Linked DNA regions of Homo sapiens: region 2 is linked to region 1. Evidence: promoter capture Hi-C in human tissues and cell types (Jung and others, 2019). All regions are on one chromosome and are shown on one strand. The core of a region is centred on a gene start or on the middle of the fragment in contact, and the rest is flanking DNA. Distances in the headings are between cores, read along the strand shown.

The links. The method cuts DNA at HindIII sites, captures the fragments that hold promoters and counts their contacts. A contact is called where the count stands out against the background at its distance.
Region 2: a contact is called between a fragment that was not itself captured here and the fragment with the promoter of NET1 in region 1, in 4 of the 25 tissues and cell types used here (dorsolateral prefrontal cortex, mesenchymal stem cells, neural progenitor cells and 1 more).

The regions. Positions count from the first base shown.
Region 1 is chr10:5,409,506-5,414,750 of GRCh38, reverse strand. NET1 (neuroepithelial cell transforming 1) reads right to left here and starts at 2,194. Exons shown (of 12, transcript NM_001047160.3): 1 at 1,931-2,194. The coding sequence starts at 2,058. RefSeq lists a silencer at 1,853-2,282. The HindIII fragment of the contact is 9,279 bases long and covers 1-5,245 here.
Region 2 is chr10:5,615,949-5,621,291 of GRCh38, reverse strand. LINC02677 (long intergenic non-protein coding RNA 2677) reads left to right here and starts at 3,084. Exons shown (of 2, transcript NR_184032.1): 1 at 3,084-3,361; 2 at 3,892-4,674. The HindIII fragment of the contact is 7,810 bases long and covers 1-5,343 here.

The sequences.
Region 1 (5,245 bases), core at 945-3,444:
TTTCTCCTCTACTGTCTGTTCAACCTCTCCCTCTATTTGTTAACTCAGCACAGCACATCAAGGGAATTTATTCTTTCTTAAGAGTCTATCCCACAAAATTGTGTTATTTCTCTCTATTCTTTCTTGTCTTCCTGTTGCAGTGAAACTTCTCTTCACCAATCCCATTGCCAGCTATCAGATTCGAACAATCATTTTTTCATTTAGACTACTGCAGACTGATTTCCTACCAATCCATCAGCTAAACTTGGAAATTTTAATTTGGTATACACAGCTGGGTCCACAAATCTCCTGAAATGTTTATGTATATGTGCACATTTTTGGGGAATAGTTTTCATAAAATATGAAGAGTGAGATGACTCCAAAATGTTGCTTATTTTTCTCATGGAAGGCAAACTGATCTTTTAAAATGCAAATATGTCATGCCATTGGCTCATTTAAAGTCTTTCAGTATTTCCCCATTACCATGAAGATAAAACCCAAACTCTGTCAAGGCATACAAGGTCTCTTCATGATGTGGCGCTTACCTCTTTAGCATCATCTCTCATGACTACCTCCTCCTTCTCCCCATATTGGTTTCCTCTCCTCTATACAAATATCACTGTTAATATAGTAATAAAATAGAATATATACCCAGAACTCATCAGACTCATTTGCTTCAGGGCCTTTCTACATGCTTCTCTGCCTGAAATCATCCATTTACATCTGCTCTCTAAACTGGTCCTTAAAGACTCAGGGATTACAATAGGAAATCATTTCCTATTCTCTCCAGTCAGGATTAAGTGTTCCTTTTAATCTACGGCATTCTGTGTATATCACTATAATAACTTTTATCACATATTATAATAATTATTAACCTACTTATCTTTCTTCCCCACTAGATTATAAATCTTAAATAGTAACAAGAGTATTTTTCCATTTCCATATTCCTAGTGTTGGCACTCACATTATTTTCTGAACAAATCGCACATTCTCTTCTCAACCTGTTGCAAAACACTCTAAGTTCGATATTGTAACCATTCTTGGAAACCATCTAAGATCAATACTCTCTTCTCATTACCAAATTTAATTTTCATTCCTCATCTAGCTTAATCCTCATCTTATTTTACTTAATCCTCATTTTATTTGACCTATCAATAACATCTGACATAGCTCGCCACGTCCTCTTCTTGAAATTCTTTCTTCATTTGGCCTCCTGGATACTGTTCTCACTTGGTTCCCTTCCTCCTAATTCACTAGCTATCCCCTGAGCTTCGCTTTGTGAAATTTCACTGAGCCAAACACGAGTCATACACTCTCATTTCAATGTATACTTCCACAAAAAGTAAAAAGAAAAAACACGAAAATGGTTGTGATGAACTCTCTAATAGGCATCTCATAACATATCCCGAAGTCAACTTATCCCTTAGTCTTTTCTTTCTCAGGACATGGAAGCCCATTCTCGTGGTGCTCACCATGACAGTTTCGGTCTGAGCAAAGGCATTTGGGAACGCCAGCCTACAGCCAGTTGGGTGTGCAGAACAAAACCATTGTGGTTTTTCCTAAGTCTCCCCTGAGAAACAGTCAGGAGGCGAGGAGACTCAATAAACCCGCCCCTTTGCCACAGGCAGGGAAAATCGCAGTTTGGGGTCTCAGGACCGACCTCGGTCCAAGGCCAGGCACACTGTCACTCCAGCCTGTGCCACCCTCACTTCCAGCGGCCCCCGTCCCCCCCCCCAACCCCGCGGTCACCTCCCCCACCCCCCACTCACCTCCCAGCGGCCCTCGCCTCCCCCTGGCCCTCACCAACACCCCCACTCGCCGCCCCCCACATCCAACTCCCGGCCAGCCCTCCCCTCCCCCCGGCCCTTGCCTCTCCAACACTCACCTCCCGTTCGGCCCTCCGCTCCCCTACACTCACCTCCCGTTCGGCCCTCCCCTCCCCCACACTCACCTCCCGTCCAGCTCCGACCCGGAGGTGTCGGCCGAAGGCCCCGTCGCTCCCTCCGTGCTGAGCCCAGAGGCCCGGCGGCTTCGCCTCCGCGGTCGAGGCTGCTTCTGAGCCGCCAGCTCGGGCTCCATGGCACGGAGGAGGGGGTGGGGCGGTGGCCGGGTGCCCGGGAGACCGGCAGGGACGGGCACGATGCCCGCCAGCCTCTGCCAGGCAGAAAGCGCCTGTCAGCGGACTGCAGCCGCCACCGCCGTCATCCGGGGATTTGAAAATGGCGGCTGAGCAGCGATCAGCCAATCAGTGAGCGCGCAGCGGTTCCTAGGAGACGTGGAGTCCCGCCCCTCCACCGCTCCCGGGATCTACTTGCCTAGGAAAGAACCTAGGAAAATTTGCCCTTAACTCCTGAGCGCATCCCTGAGTCCCTAAGGCCCGGTACCTCCTTCATTGTTCATTAGGACTTTCACTACAGGCCAAGGCAAATGGACTGGAAGCATTTTAATTCACCAGATCTTTCTTAGCATTTGAGGAGAAGAGAGGTCCAAACTAATGACCTGTAAACAAGGCATGTTTATTGGCCATATTCACACTGAATTATTGTGCACGTGGCCAATATGAGATATATTTCCAATTACCAAAGGTTATGCAAGTGTGTTCCCGGGACTGTCTCTAGGGAACCAGCAAAATCTAATTATGAGCCCTTATGTCTTCCAATAAGCATGACACAGTCTCTCCCTAGCAAAACAGAATGAAGTGACTTCATCCTTTGCTTGTAAAAGTCAGCAAAAGACATAATATAAAATAAAAGACCGCTTCAAGTAAAAAAAAAATTGTTAAACAAATTACACTTTCTTTGATTTTAAATATTGCTTTATATGTGTCAAAGTCTTTAAAAATAGCTTCTCCTGACCGGGCGCTGTGGCTCACGCCTGTAATCCCAGCACTTTGGGAGGCTGAGGCAGGCGGATCACGAGATCAGGAGATCAAGACCATCCTGGCCAACATGGTGAAACCCTGTCGCTACTAAAATACAAAACTTAGCTGGGCAGAGTGGCGCATGCCTGTAATCCCAGCTACTCAGGAGGCTGAGGCAGGAGAATTAGTTGAACCAGAGAGTCGGAGCTTGAATTGAGCCAAGACCGTGCCACTGCACTCCAGCCCAGTGACAGAGCGAGACTCCGTCTCCAAAAAAAAAAAAACAAAAAAACACTTCTCTTTTGCCAGTATATTTCCACTTATGGAAATTTATCCTAAAAAATAAAATTATATAAACATGAAGCTATTAATGACATTGTTTATAATAGAAACATTTAAAACAACCTAAATAAACAATGATTTATAGCTCATCCACTGAGAAGAATATTTTCAGCCAACAAAAATGAAGTGTGAAGTATGTAATAGTATACTGGTAATTTGAAATAAAAACATGAAGTATAGAGGTATATTCAGTATATTCAAAGTTATGAATTACAAGAGATTATACAAAGAAAAAAGATAATGTATTAAAATGTATTAAATGTATTAAAAAGTCAATGTATTAAAATGTCTCTAGGTAGACTTTAGGTATTCAAAATTTTTATTTTTATTTTTTGCATTTAATTTTTTTAAAAATAAGGACATATTGAATTTGCAGTACCTTTATAACATGAGGGAAAAATGTTTTTGTTTTAAAAAGAGTAAGAAATTAGGGAGTAACATTGAGATGTGAAGCCAGCTAGACTTCCTGGGTAGAGTGGGGACTTGGAGAACTTTTCTGTCTGGCAAGAGGATTGTAAAACACACCAATCAGTGCTCTGTAGCTAGCAAGAGGATTGTAAAATGCACCAATCAGTGCTCTGTAAAAAGCACCAATCAGCAGGACCCTAAAAGTAGCCAATCACAGGGAGGATTGAAAAAAGGGCACTCTGATAGGACAAAAATGGAACATGGGAGGGCACATATAAGGGAATAAAACCTGGCCACCCCAGCCAGCAGGGCAACCCACTGGGGTCCCCTTCCACACTGTGGAAGCTTTAGTTCTTTCACTCTTTACAATAAATCTTGCTGCTGCTCACTCTTTAGGTCTGTGCCACCTTTAAGAGCTGTAACACTCACCATGAAGGTCCATGGCTTCATTCTTGAAGTCAGCGAGACCATGAACCCACCGGAAGGAACCAGCTCTGAACATAAGTTGACCTTGGTCAAGAACCACTTCTGTTCTACCTTCCCCATCCCTCCCCAAAAATTAAAGAAGAAAGTACTGCTTTGTAGCAGTTAGAGTGTAAGAATACAGAAATGTTCTTAATATTTGGGGAGTTGGTCTCCACCAAGACAGAGCTTCAGAGGATGCAGATGTTTAGATTATGAACAAAAATAAACCTGTAAGAGCAATTCTTCAAGTCAGGTCCCAAGTAGGTCACAACTACTCTGTGTCCAGAAAACTCACACCCCTTTGGGATTTTCACAATTTACCCGAATTGACCAATCAGGGCTCACCTGATGTAACCGATCAGAACTCATCTGCTTTATCCAATCAGGGTTCAGCTGTATTACCCAATCTGAACTGAGCAAGTCTGAATCTTTCCTTTGCATAAACACATCTGATTGGAAACCTGGACAAGAACTTTTTCTATAGAAGCCAAACCCTCCCCTTTATTCTCTGGAATCACCTTTCTTTTACTCCGAAGGCTGTGTCTCCCTGGTTTGCAAACTGTTCACTAGAATAAAGTCTCCTTTCTCCAAACTTCCTTTTCAGAGAACTTTTGTTCACAAGATAGGACCATGTGAATCGCTGACGCTTGGTCTTTTTACCCACAGAAACAGCCGTTTCATATTAATAGTTTCAACATACTTCGGTGAGATCCTCAGAATTCAGGGTCTGTCCTCAGCTTTGCAGGTCCTGAAACTGGTTTTGATTGTGTCATCAGAGGTGGTCAGTCCTTTGGTAACTTGTAATAACTACTCACAAAATGATAGATACTGCAGGATGTCAATGTGGGGATTCCAGTGGTGGGGGTGGGCACTTCTTTCCAGTGACCTGAATACTATTGTTTTATGCAGAGCAACTGTTTCCAATTTTCATTCACTTGAGAACTTATGATTTTGTTCAATTATTCACAAGAATTTATTAAATTCCTGCTATAATATGCCAGGATCTGTGCTAGACATTAGGGAAATAAGGAATAGAAGACAAATTTTCATCAGAAAATGGCTGGGTACCATAGAAGAAGAGCAAAGAAAAGTGACCGCTCTGAGGGTTGGTCATTGAAGACCTGGGAAAGGCTGGTGACATCTCTTGATCTTACAAGAGATCAACTTTCTGGTGTCTGAATGCCATTGTCC
Region 2 (5,343 bases), core at 1,413-3,912, 210 kb before region 1:
GTTGAGTCTGGGGAGAAAAAAAGCCAGGAGAACTGTGCCTGAAGTAGAAAGTCCACTAATTTGTCCCACAACCATAACCCTGCACCCCCGGCTCCCACGCGGCTTCGTCCGGACCCGGCAATGAACCGCTTCCCCAGGTGCTTGTTATTTAAACTGTCTCCACCATCCTGTGACTTCTCTTAAATTTAACCATCTTGGTGTCTTGCCATCCGGCCCCGAACAGGGGTGTGGAGGAGTTAGCTGGGTGCTGACGGATGAACGCAGAGTTCTGGGTCCTGCTCCGGGTTCGTTTTGTAGAAATGTATCGAGGGAATGAATCATTTTCATCAATGGGTGTTTTCCCTCCTATCTTTTCATTTCTTTTTGTTTTAGGACATCTTAGTATCTTGGAATTCTGGGAAGGAGAATGTAAACATTTTTCAGAACCAGCATTTTCCCGTCTTCTGTTTGGTCTGGGGCGTGTCTTGGCCTCTCCTGGGATGTGGTGGCTGTGGAAGGCTGGTGGGGGTGCACCTTCCACAGCACCCCGAGACCCTGGGTAGCTCCCACGTGCCTGCTCTTGCTTTCAGCCCTAAGGGCCAGCTGGTGGGGCCGCCACTCAGCTCAGGGCTGGTGCAGGGCGCTCAGGGCATGTCTTTTGTCCTGATGGGCTCTGGAGGCCGCAACCTCAATTCTGCCTTTTGGTTTTCCCAAGTGAAGGAGAAACACCCAGCCCGGGGTGGGTGGGATGACGCTCGGCTCCGAGTGGAGGCTGGAACACAAAGTGAGTTTCTCCGGAGTGTGGGTTCCTCCTCTGCCATGTGGCAGCCTCCCCATTTCTTCCTCCTCCCCCTGTCCCACGCACTCATCAACCACCTAAGCCTAAACCACTTTCCCAGCGGCTCCCTCCTCCTTCCTCTGTGGATCCTGGGACTCTGTGGCCCATGAGATACCTCCAGCTTCCCTGACCTGGAGGCCAAGGTCACCTGCCCAGTAGCCTTAACTTTGGCAGGGCAGGTGTCCCGAGACCTCCCTCCCTGGGACCCCAGCCACCTCCCCCACAGCCTGCCCATTCTCCATCCCCCCTCCCTGTAAGCCAGGCTCCAAAGCCAGTCATAACAAGGCACAAGAAAGGAAAGCGGAGAAAAGGAAAAACGTGTATCTTGGCCTCAACACAAACCTAGAGACGATTCACTTCCAAACCACTGAAAACAAGGACGTGCCAGGGCTCTGATGCAAGGGTCTGATGCCGTGCGCTCACTCCTGGCCTTGCAGAAAGGGGTCTCTGTTGGGGGTGGGGGTGAGAATGGGGAGCGACAAGGGAGGAGACAGTCCCCCCACTCCGAAGCAGGGCTGAAAGTTGAGCCCCCATAGGGCTTCCCACATGGAGCAGGCACAGGGGAGGAAGTGGCTGTCTGGAGGGCAGACTGTCAGGCAGCCTTTGCCAGTCCTGGCCCCTCTTCCCCCTCCTCAGCCCTCCATGCAACCCCAGCCTCTCCCAGAGGGCCTGACTGTGGTTTTTCCTGTTAACTCCGCCTGTTCTTCTTCTGCGGCCTTTGAAGCTCAGCTCTTTCCTTCCATGCTGTAACCTCAAATCCCGGCCCCTCCGCTTCCTTCGGTGGGGGATTGTCCTTTCTTTCCAGGTCCCTGCATCCTTGTCCAGGAGCAGCCATCAGTGTGGAGCTGGGGCTTGGAGATCTTGCTCCCCGCTGCCTCTAGGGCTCAGGGGCATGGCTGCCGACCACACAGGGGCAGGTGGGTATGTGTGCTCCCTGCAGGAGGACAGGTCTGGCATGAGTCAGATGCCTGCTACTGTGGTCTGTGGGACTTGGAGGGGTGTCCCTGACACTGAGCAGCTCCTTTCTTCTCACACAGTTCTGGAAAAGCCCATGAGGGTGGGGCAATTGCTGCTTGGAGATTGTCTCTTACGAGGGAAGAGGAGGAAGGATTCATGCATTCCTTCACTCACTCACTCATTTACTCCTTGATCATTTCAGCACTGAGTGGGCACCTGCACTGTTCCGGTCTCTTTCCATAGATTGAGAGGTGGGCTCTTCCAGATTGACAGATGGGCTTGACATAGTCTCAGGCTCTGTGCACGGGGCTCCTGGGGCAGCTCAGAGCTGCAGTGCAATCAGGTTATACCCCATAAGGAGAAGCTGCCTGGGACCTTGACCCCTGGCCAGCAGAACAGCTGCTGCAGCTGTCACTGATTACCGAGCCTGCGTGGGCCTCGGGGTCGAGTGTCATTTGTCACTCCGGAGAGGACATACTGATGCCTCTCACAGCTTGTGGAGGAAACGTGCAGGCCCGTGGGGTTTCATAGGCTAGCGAGGGCCCTGCAGGCATGACCCAGGCCAGGAGCGGCTTTCTCAGTCTGTCCGTGAGGCCCTGGTCCAGGGAGCCTTCCAGGGCCCGGGCATGTGGCCACCCACTTTCTCAACCTCCTTCCTGAACAAGACACACTTTTTAAGGCTCAGTCTGGAGCTGACCTTCTCCCTGTGATACTTGGTGATGAGAAGTCTTTCCACCTCCCGAGCCTTGCCCTTTTTGGGGGCATGAGATCCTGGGATGTTATTAACCCTCTGAGGCTCGGTTCCTCATCAGCAGCTTGGGAATCATTGTAGTTCCTACCTCCAAAATTCTTAAAAGGCCTGTTGTTATCATTCAACTCTCCAGACAGTTTAAAAGAAAAGTGCTGGAGAAACAGATCATGATAACAGCACATTTTATTGTAGTCTTCTGACGAGCCATGTAGTGAGGTACACCCACTACTTTCTAGGTGTAGAGAGTAGAGAAATCCGCTCAATCCTGAGTTTGATAATGAGGAAAGAGGCCCGGAGAAATTAAGAAATGCATATAAGGGCACACACTGTTAAACAGTAGAGCTGGGATTGCCACCTAGATGTTGGATGATGGAACCCACGCTTAACCACTACCCTGTCCCACCTCCCAGCGAGGGGAAGAGAAACAGCCACAGAGCCTCTGCCTTCTTTTAAAGCACATGGCTTCACCTTCAGAGTGGAATGCTGAGCCCTGCCTGGGCTTGCCCTGCGGCGTTTGGGCGAGGAGCTGAGGTCCTTGCAAAGAGTGGTGTGGTTGGTGCATGGTTGCGTGTGCACTGCCCAGATGCAGAGTGTGGACTTTGCTCAGAAGCACAGCATCTGTGAAGCTTTCGGAAATTATCCCTCTGGCTCCAGCCCTTTCTAGAGATCTCCACGCACATCTCTGCATGAAGGTTTCAGAGTCACTGGATTTCCCAGGGCCTTCTCTTTGCTAGGAATGTCTGAGACGCGCTCTGCAAGATGAGTTGGCAGCATCTCTGTGCCTCTGGTTTTGCCAGGCTCCACCAACATCCCGCTAAGAACTCTTCACCCTCAAGGTAAAACCCAAACTCCTTAGCACAGTATTCAAGGGCCTGCTTCCCTGCCTACCTGCCCGCCTGCCTACCTGCTTACTTGCTCACCTGCCTACCTGCTTACTTGCTCACCTGCTTACCCGCTTGCCCGCCATACTTACCTGTCCAGCTCATCTTCCCCGGCCCTCCTGCTGCTGTTCTGCGTGGGAACTGCCGCTCTCCCATCTTCTCCAGCCAGCCCTCCTCTCTACTGCCGCATCCGCGGCCCTTCACTGTCCTCACGACTGATGCATCCACCCTGGTCCACCTGCCCCAGATGCTCCTTAGGGCAGCAGCCCCGCTGAAGCATCTTCACATTCCCATAGAAAACTGTGGGATGCCAGACAGGGACAAGCACCTCCAAGATGAGGGGATCAGAACTAGAAATGAAAAGGGATTTGTCGTTCATCACCAAGAAAACCAACACGAGAGGCGGGATTGGAACCCTGTCCCATGGCATCTGGGGTCGATTTGTTTAGGGGGCCACGGGGCTTTTTCTCCCATGTCCACCTTAGTGCACTGAGGGGAACCCCAGTGAAGGCCAATGAGGGAAACCACACATCACTGAGGGCCGACGGAGGCCCCCAAAGCTCAGATCGCTGTGCTCGCCAGTAGGTAAGCATCCCCTGTGAAGAAAGCCTACCTTCTCTCTCCCTCCCCAGATCCCCATATCCAGACAGAGTGAGGAAATGCATAAAAACAAAACACAAAACACACTCCTTCCCCAGGTCCCCAGACACCCTTAACACAGCTATCTGCAGGATTGAATGATTGCTGGGACCACACAATTTACACTTGGCTCTCGTGGTCCGGAGGGGAGGACTGCGCCAGCATGAGAAGACCAGAGAGCAAGTAAATGGAAATTTGGCGAGATCCTGTGGCTGCTGTTGGTGGCTGCAGCCAGACAGGAAAACTGAGATGGTGTGAGCAGAAAGGGCTGGAAGGAGTTGGCTTTTTCCAAGAAATTACAGCGGAATCTTCTTCCAAGAGGCTGGGGGCCTCTGCAGACATGATCTCATTACTTACCCCCCAAATCCCCCAGCTTCCCTACGGACCAAGGACCAGGGGTCTCTGCCCAGTCCTAGCTCCAAGGAAACTCACACTTGGCAGATTTTCCTAATCGGAGCTGGCCTTGAAGTTTGCTCACTGATAATCACCAGAAAGTCACCCCAACAATGGGTGATGCCAGAGTGTCCTCAAGCTTCAAGGGTCCGTAAAAACACTTGACTCCCCCAGGACAAAAATGACTGGGGGAAACATGCAGTTCTTCAAAGAGAACGGTTTCATTCTGTACCAAAGGGTGTCTTAATTTGCCTTGGCAAGAGAGGCAGCACCGTGTTGTGGGTGGACAGCACTCGGGGGGTGGACGGCACTCGGGGGGTGGGCGGCACTCGGGGGGGTGGGCGGCACTCGGGGGGGTGGGCGGCACTCGGGGGGTGGGCGGCACTCGGGGGGGTGGGCGGCACTCGGGGGGTGGGCGGCACTCGGGGGGTGGGCGGCACTCGGGGGGGTGGACGGCACTCGGCTGGGTGGGCGGCACTCGGGGGGTGGGCGGCACTCGGGGGGGTGGACGGCACTCGGCTGGGTGGGCGGCACTCGGCGGGGTGGGTGGCACTCAGGGGGATGGGCGGCACTCAGCGAGGCGGGCGGCACTCCGGGGGGTGGACGGCACTCAGGGCATCGGCGGCACTCGGGGAGCCGACCACCCACATGTTGGAGCCTCTTCTCTGCCACAAGCCCTTTGCCAGACACTGACCATTGACACAAGGTGCGTCAGAGCTGGGCCTTAGCAAGCAGGGGCAGAGTTGTGCTTATGATAGGGGCTAAATGAAGTCCTGGAGTTGGTGCAGAAGAAGAGAGTCTAGGGGTCCCGGAAGGCTTTGTGGAGCTGCCGTGCTAGCTGCCATCCAGGGTGCCAGCTATGGGCAGGCACTGTGCTGAGTGACCCCTGGACATCAGCTCACTTA